2 separate regions of the Homo sapiens genome follow, and region 1 is linked to region 2. The links are contacts of gene promoters, found by promoter capture Hi-C in blood cells and fetal thymus (Javierre and others, 2016). All regions are on one chromosome and are shown on one strand. Each heading gives the region's core, a stretch centred on a gene start or on the middle of the fragment in contact. The rest is flanking DNA. Distances are from core to core; before and after follow the strand shown. Region 1 holds the start of KMT5C (lysine methyltransferase 5C). Region 2 holds the start of ZNF428 (zinc finger protein 428).

What was found. Contacts are between HindIII fragments. The CHiCAGO score rates a contact against its expected background, and 5 or more counts as called.
Region 1: a contact is called between the fragment with the promoter of KMT5C here and the fragment with the promoter of ZNF428 in region 2, in 1 of 17 cell types (naive CD8 T cells). The highest score is 6.4, in naive CD8 T cells.

Annotation. Positions count from the first base shown.
Region 1 is chr19:55,337,359-55,341,237 of GRCh38, reverse strand. It overlaps KMT5C (lysine methyltransferase 5C), which reads right to left and starts at 1,362. Exons shown (of 9, transcript NM_032701.4): 1 at 1,281-1,362. RefSeq lists a silencer at 1,211-1,270 and enhancers at 1,291-1,360, 1,670-2,443, 2,444-3,218. The HindIII fragment of the contact is 2,060 bases long and covers 1-1,865 here.
Region 2 is chr19:43,618,011-43,621,560 of GRCh38, reverse strand. It overlaps ZNF428 (zinc finger protein 428), which reads left to right and starts at 1,932. Exons shown (of 3, transcript NM_182498.4): 1 at 1,932-2,003. LOC105372411 (a long non-coding RNA gene) reads right to left here and starts at 2,500. Exons shown (of 4, transcript XR_001753942.2): 1 at 1,929-2,500. RefSeq lists a silencer at 1,879-2,118 and an enhancer at 1,923-2,573. The HindIII fragment of the contact is 4,307 bases long and covers 1-3,550 here.

The DNA.
Region 1 (3,879 bases), core at 113-2,612, about 12 Mb before region 2:
GGGGGCTCAGAGGACAAAAGCGGGGGTGGGGAGGGGAGCAAAGGAAGACTATGGGGAGGCAGCACAGGTCAATATTTACAAAAACATTTTTTTAAAGCGGAGCCAGGAGAGAACGGAGAGATGAAGAAAACCACCCAAACCCCTAACCCGGACGGAGGGCCAGCCTCGTCCCCGCACCACGGCGCTCGAGGCTCATCCGCGCCCAGGAGAGGAGGAGATGGGGCAGGGCAAGGAGCGGGAGCTGCAGAGACGGCTGTGGAGGGGTCGGGGACAGACTGCGAGGCTGCGGGAGAGAAAGAGGGGGCGCTGCAGGAGGACGCCAGGGACAGCGGGGAAGCTGGAGAGGGGGCTGGGGGCAAGGAGAGAAACGCACAGCGGTGGGCACGGCAGGGGGCTGTGGGAGGGAGAAGGCTGCAGCCGGGCCTGGGGGCGCTCAGAGGGGTGTGAGGAAGGGATGGGGGTGCCAGGGAGGACAGAGAGCGGGGAATGGCCTAGGGACTCAGGGAGGAGCCAGACGGGAGACCTGGGTCGGGGGGCGGTCCAGGGATGGCGGAGAAGATCCTGGGTGTCCAGTGAGTGAAGGGCCTGAGAGGGCGGACAGGGGCCCAGGGATCCAAACGGGCTTGGTGGGGTCCTGGGGGATCCAGGAAAGGGAGACCCTAGGGAAGGGCCTGGGGACCCAGGGAGGCGCCTGGGTAGGCGGTGAGAGCCCAGGGCAAGGGACCTGGAGGGTCAGAGGCCGACCTCAGGGTCCAGGGAGTGCCAGGAGAGGGACAGAGGGGTCAGGGAGAGGTTCTAGGGCACAGAAAGACCTAGAGGGTCCAGAAGGAGGCCTGGAGGGTGAGAGGAGGTCGGGGATTGGCCCTGGGAGTGCAGGGAGGTCCCGGGGGTGAGAGAAGGGTCAGGGAGAGGCCCTGAGGGTGCAGGGAGAGACCTGGGGGTGCAGGGAGAGGCCTGGAGGGTGAGGTCAGGGAAAGGCCCTGGGGGGTGCAGGGAGAGGCCTGGAGAGTGACAAGAGGTCAGGGAGAGGCCCTGAGGATGCAGGGAGGGCCGTGGACGTAAGAAGGGGGTCAGGGCCCGGGTGAGGAAGCACAGGAAGGAGGCTGCAGTGCCGCGGAGCCCGAGGCCCGGCGAGGGGCCGGGAGACGTGGGCGCCTGGACACGAGGAGGGGCCGGGCGGGGTGGGGGGCAGTCGGGGCAGGGGGCGACTGGGGAGCCAAGGCGGCGCGGGGCTGGGGCCGTGAAGGGGCTCAGAGATCGGGCCCCGCGCCGCCCCTCACCCGCTTCTCCTCCTCCTCCTCAGGCGCCCGCGCCGCCGCCGCCAACACCTCCCACAGCCTCCTTCGGCTCTCGTCAAACACTGTCGCCGCACCTCCCATCTGCTCTCCGGGCCAGCCCCGCCAAGGCCACTGAGGCTTTCTATTGGCCACAGCCACCGCCACTCCTCCGTTGCTACGAAGCTCACGGCGCTCCCATTGGCCAAGCCCCACTCTTTCCCTCCGCGCCCGGCTCTCGTCAATACACAGATAAAACCCCGCCACGCCCCCGCCGCCGTCAAACGCCGCGAACTGTTGTCAGTGGTTCACATCGCTGTCCTTTAGTCGCTGCCATGGAGACTTGTCCCGCCTTCGCTCACACTGGGGCTCGAAATCGACGCACTCATTGGCCGAAAGCGCAGTCTCTCCGGGCGAAACTCGGTTTGGGTCGGGTTATTCAGGTCCAAGTGGAAAGAGGGCGGGCTCTGCCAGCTCCAGTAGTCGTATATGATTGCCTGGCCTTGGGACAGCTCCTCTTTCCATTGGGTAAGGCCTCCGTCCATCACCATAGAGTCGCGGCCTCCCTCTTCTATTTCTCCGAGGAAAGCTTCGGCCACAGGAGGGAGAAAGCCAGACCCGGCGGGAGGGAGGCGGTGAATGCGCGCGCACCGCCATCCCTCTCCCCTCCCGCCCCGCGAGGCCTGCGGTTACCAAGGCGACGAAACTTTATTGACAGCTCTGCCTGGCTACAAAGGGCTCCTCAGTCTCTCTCCCTCCCTCCCCGTTTACACCGTTGCGTTTTGGGAGTATCCACACGCACTCTGTGGGACCTTCCCGCGATATGAACGGGGTCGGATGGAGGGAGGGGAGGCTGAGGGAGGAGTGGGGACTTTTGAGACAAGCCCTGACTCCTGGGGCGCTCCCCTGGGGCACCCCCTAATTGGGATCACCCCCCCTACCTCAATCCTAGAGGCAAACGTAACTAACAATTCATCATAATTACGCCGAGAATAATAAGCTCCACACTCAGAACAGGCGGTCTTTGTTTGCTTGTTTGTTTGTTTCGCCACAGCCATTCTTCCCTTAACGACACTGATACCATCTGGGCAGTGCGTGCTCAGGCGATGTCGTCATCCTGCCAGCATCCTAGAGCAACATCACTCACACCTACGTGGCAGGGCTGCTGGCACCTGGGCTGTAAGGTGGCCGGCGGCTCCTGGGCCACACAGCTGTGCAGCATGTTACTGTCCGGTAACACAATGTAGGCGCTTGTGTGTCTACACATATAGGATCACTGTCAGACATGCGCTCCACTGTACAGCTATAGATCGTGGGCACTTAAAACAATGCATGCCACAGAGTAGGTGCTGTTTTGGTGTGCTGTTTTTGGTGTTTTGGTGTGTGTGTGTGTGTGTGTGTGTGTGTGTGTGAGAGAGAGAGAGAGAGAGAGAGAGAGAGAGAGAGAGAGAGAGAGAGAGAGACAGAGACAGAGTATCGCTCTCTCGCCCAGGCTAGAGTGCAGTGGAGTGATCTCGGCTCACTGCAGCCTCTGCTTCCCAGGTTCAAACGATTCTCCTGCCTCAGCCTCCCAAGTAGCTGGGATTACAGGCATGCACTACCACCCCTGGCTAATTTTTTTTTAGACAGAGTTCCCTCTTGTTGCCCAGGCTGGAGTGGAATGGTGCGATGTCGGCTCACTGCAACCTCCGCCGCCCAGGTTCAAGCGATTTTCCTGCTTCAGCCTCCCAAATAGTTGGGATTACAGGCATGCACTACCATGCCCGGCTAATTTTTTTTTTTTTTTTTTTTTTTAGTAGATACGGGGTTTCACCATGTTGGTCAGGCTGGTCTCGAACTCCTGACCTCAGGTGATCCACCCACCTCAGCCTCCCAAAGTGCTGGGATTACAGGCATGAGCCACCATGCCTGGCCTGTATTGTGTTTTGAGACAGGGTCTTCCTCTGTTGCCCAGGCTGGAGTGCAGTGGTGCAAGGATGGCTCACTGCAGCCTCGACCTCCTGGGTTCAAGCGATCCTACAGCCTCAGCCTCCTGAGTAGCTGGGACCACAGACGCATGCCACCATGCTCGGCTAATCCTTTAATTTTTGTAGAGACAGGGTCTCTCTAGGGGCTCATTCAAGTGATGCTCCCTTCTTTTTTTTTTTTTTTGAGAGAGGGTCTTGCTCTGTCGCCCAGGCTGGAGTACAGTGGTGCGATCTCGGCTCTCTGCCTCCCGAATTCAAGTGATTCTCCTGCCTCAGCCTCCTGAGTAGCTGGGATTACAGGTGCCCACCACCATGCCCAGCTAGTTTCTGTATTTTTAGTAGAGGTGGGGTTTCGCCATGCTGGCCAAGCTGGTCTTGAACTCCTGACCTCAGGTGATCCACCCACCTCAGCCTCCCAAAGTGCTGGGATTACAGGTGTGAGCCACCATGGCTGGCCTAGGCACTTTGTTAATATGTACTGAATGAATGTGTGAATGACCAACCAATAAGGATGAAGCTGACAGTCTCTGCATTGCTCTGTGACTTTGAGGAAGTGACTTGCCATCTCTGGGCTTTGGGTTCCCATCTATAAAACATAGACCATACACTTGTTTGGCTTCCAGCTTTCCACCCTTTGT
Region 2 (3,550 bases), core at 683-3,182:
AGTAGCGCCATCTCGGATCACTGCAAGCTCCGCCTCCCGTGTTCACGCCATTCTCCTGCCTCAGCCTCCCGAGTAGCTGGGACTACAGGCGCCTGCCACCACGCCCGGCTAATTTTTTTTTTTTTTTTTTTGTATTTTTAGTAGAAATGGTCTAGGATGGCCAGGATGGTCTCGATCTTCTGACGTGATCCGCCCGCCTCGGCCTCCCAAAGTGCTGGGATTACAGGCGAGACCCAGAGTCTCGCTGGGTGGCCCAGGCTGGAGTGCAGTGGCTCAATCTCGACTCAATGCAACCTCTGCCTCCAGGGTTCAAGTGATCTTCGTGCCTCAGCCTCCCAAGTAGCAAGGATTACAGGCACCCCCCATAACCCCTGGCTAATTTTTGTAGTTTTAATAGAGGCAGGGTTTCACCATGTTGCCCAGGCTGGTCTCAAGCTCCTGACCTCAGGTGATACACCAGCCTCGGCCTCCCAAAGTGCTGGGATTACGGGCGTGAGCCACCGCGCCCAGCCCCATGTACTCTTCATGCCAGTTACAACCACCACCAACTCATGGCCAATCCCGATTTATCCATAACTCCAGTCAAATGTGTAAGTGCTATTATGGAGAGATCAGGAAAAGCCTCTCAGATTGACATCTGTACCAAGATATGAATGGTGAGCACAAGAGTAGGTATTCAAAGGTCAGAGGGAAAAGCATTTTCAGGCGGAGGGAACGGCAAGAGCAGAGGCCCGAGCTGGTAAAGAGTTTGGGGTAAGGTGGAGCTGGACAGAAATGGAGGGAGGAGGAAGTAGGTGGGGTCAGAAAGATAAGCACGGCCAGACCAGGTGTATAGCCCTGAGGCCATGATAAAGATTTTTGGATTTTTTTTTTTTCCTAATGGGATCCCTTTGGGGGAGTTTTAAGCCAGAATGTGACAAAGTCACTTACAGGAAGACTGGAATGTAGCCATAGTTGAACTCTAACATCGTCTATAGAACCATTTCCCGTCTCCAGTTAGGTTCTAGGCATACTAAGCTGCTCTTGCTTCCTCAATCAAAACATGCGCTTCTATTTTTTTTTTTTTTTTTTTGGCCTCTGGGCCTTGGCGCTTGCAGTTCATTCTGCCAGACCCATTCCCATTCTAGTTGGCTCCTATTCGTACTTGGCTTAAGGATCACCACCTCCTGGAAGTCTTTCTAGAACCAGAGGCCGGGGCAAGCGCCTCTTAGGCTCCCACAGCCCCCTGTGTTCCTCACTCCAGGTCTGACCTTCTGGGTAGTAGTTGTCTAATTAGGTGCGTATCTCCTTCGACTGGGGTGCCGTGAGTACAGGAGTATGGTTCACTGCAGAAACCACAGAATCCGCCAGCATGGGGCCTGACACCTAGGAGATCAATAAACCTTTATCCTGGTTGGGAGGGGTCCTGGCCCTCGTGCCCTCTCTCAGGATGCAAACTGATCCCCTACGAAGACAAGGCTACCCACTTCGCGTCAGTCTGCAGTCCCTGCGCGCATGCGCTTTGCTCAGGTTGCCCCCGCCATATGCTAATCACTGCGCTCTGGAGTAAGGCCCCTCCGGGGAATATGCAAATCACTCCTTCCAGTGCGGGAGGCCTTTCATTGTCCCGCGCTAGGATTATGCAAATAAGCAGGCCTCGGGCCCAGGATCCAGTCCGAACTAGCGCCCTCCACCCCCAGCGCATCCCAGTTTTGTAAGGCGCGTTCCTGCCCCGCACACGCACGCGCGAACCCTTCAGCTTCTTGTTCCTTTGGGCCGCGGGCTGTACCAAGTAAACCCAGGCAGCGAGGGGCAAAGCACGGCGCCCCCCGCGCGGGTCTCGTCGACGGCCCGACGCGCATAGCCCCTCTTCCCACAGCGCTACAGGACTAGTCCGTCTCGCCGCGCAAGCGCCCTAGGCTCTTCACGCCCCCTGCGCGCTGTCCTACCCTACTTGCGACGCAGGCGCAGAGGCTGGGCGTGCAGCCGCCGCCGCAGAGCCGGAGCGGGGGCCGCCGGCGCCGGTGAGTGTCCCGGGCAGGGGTGCGCGAGGCATGCCGGGAAGCGGGCGCTACGGCCCCGCTGCATGATGGGAGCGACGACTCCCGTCACCGGGGAGCCGGCGGTCTGGGGCCGTGGTGACCCGAGGGCTTCTTTTTCTCCCCCTACGCGTTTGTGCCGCCCTGGGGCATCCTGGGAGAACCGAGCGCTCCGCCTTGAAGCGCTGTGGGAGTCGGTCCGCTAGTCGTAGGCCTGGTGCATCCTGGGAAAGAGTGTCCCAGATCCTTGTCGAGACCGGTTCCTTTTATCCCACACCTGCCGCTGACCGTCCTGGAGGCTTGGAGCGCTTCCACACGGGGAGTCTGGGAAGGTGGTCGCTATAGGCCTAAGGCATCCTGGGAAGAACTGCCACAACGAATTGTGGGAACTGGCCGTTATTGTCCCGTAGTGGAAGGTTTTGCCCTGGTCTCTTTGCTCGAGCATTGGAACGGGTGCCTATTGTGTTCACGCGGGGCATCTTGGGAATTGACTGCTATAGGCCCAGGGCATTGTGGGGTCTCCAGCACTGTGTTTGCCTTTCAGTTTGGCTGCCATAGGCGTGGTAGGAGTGGGACTTGTGAACCAAGGGATGGCCCTACCTGACGTCTGGAATACTCTGGAAGGGGCCTTGTGTGACGTGGGCTTGGAAAAGTGTAGGCTGATGGGCATTGTCTCCTGGTAACTTCAGGGAATGTCTTGATTGTCCCAGGTGTGTGGTTGCCGTATAAAATATACAATGTCTAGTTAAATTTGAATTTCAGATAAACAATTATATCCAAAAGATACAACCTTTTAGAAAAGTATGTCCCAAATATCACATGGAACATAGCTATATTAATTCTTTGGGCTAGTTGCAGTGATACCAATACTTTGGGAGGCTAAGGCAGGAGGATCGCTTGAGACCAGGAGTTCAAGACCAGCCTGGGCAATATAGTGAGACCCCCGTCTCTACAAAAAAAAAAAAAAAAAAAAAAAGTAAAAATTAAGCCTGGCATGGTGGCGCATACCTGTAGTCCCAGCTGCTCTCCTAGGGGCTAGTAGGGTACCTTGAGCACAGGAGTTTGAGGTTACAGTGAGCTAACCTCCCAACCTGGTTATGGGGGAGTACATGAGTTAAGGCCTGGAAGCCCCTTTCCTACAGATCACCCTACTGCACTCCAGCCTGGGCAACTGAGCGAGACCCTGTCTCTTAAAAAATATAAATAAGTAGGCTGGGCGCGGTGGCTCACGCCTGTAATCCCAGCACTTTGGGAGGCCGAGGCGGGTGGATCACGAGGTCAGGAGATCGAGATCATCCTGGCTAACACGGTGAAACCCCATCTCTACTAAAAATACAAAAAATAGTCGGGCGTGGTGGCAGGCGCCTGTAGTCCCAGCTACTCGGAAGGCTGAGGCAGGAGAATGGCGTGAACCCAGGAGGCGGAGCTTGCAGTGAGCCGAGATCGTGCCACTGCACTCCAGCCTGGGCGACAGAGCAAGACTCCGTCTCAAAAAAAAAAAAAAAAAAAAAAAAAAAGCCGGGCATGGTGGC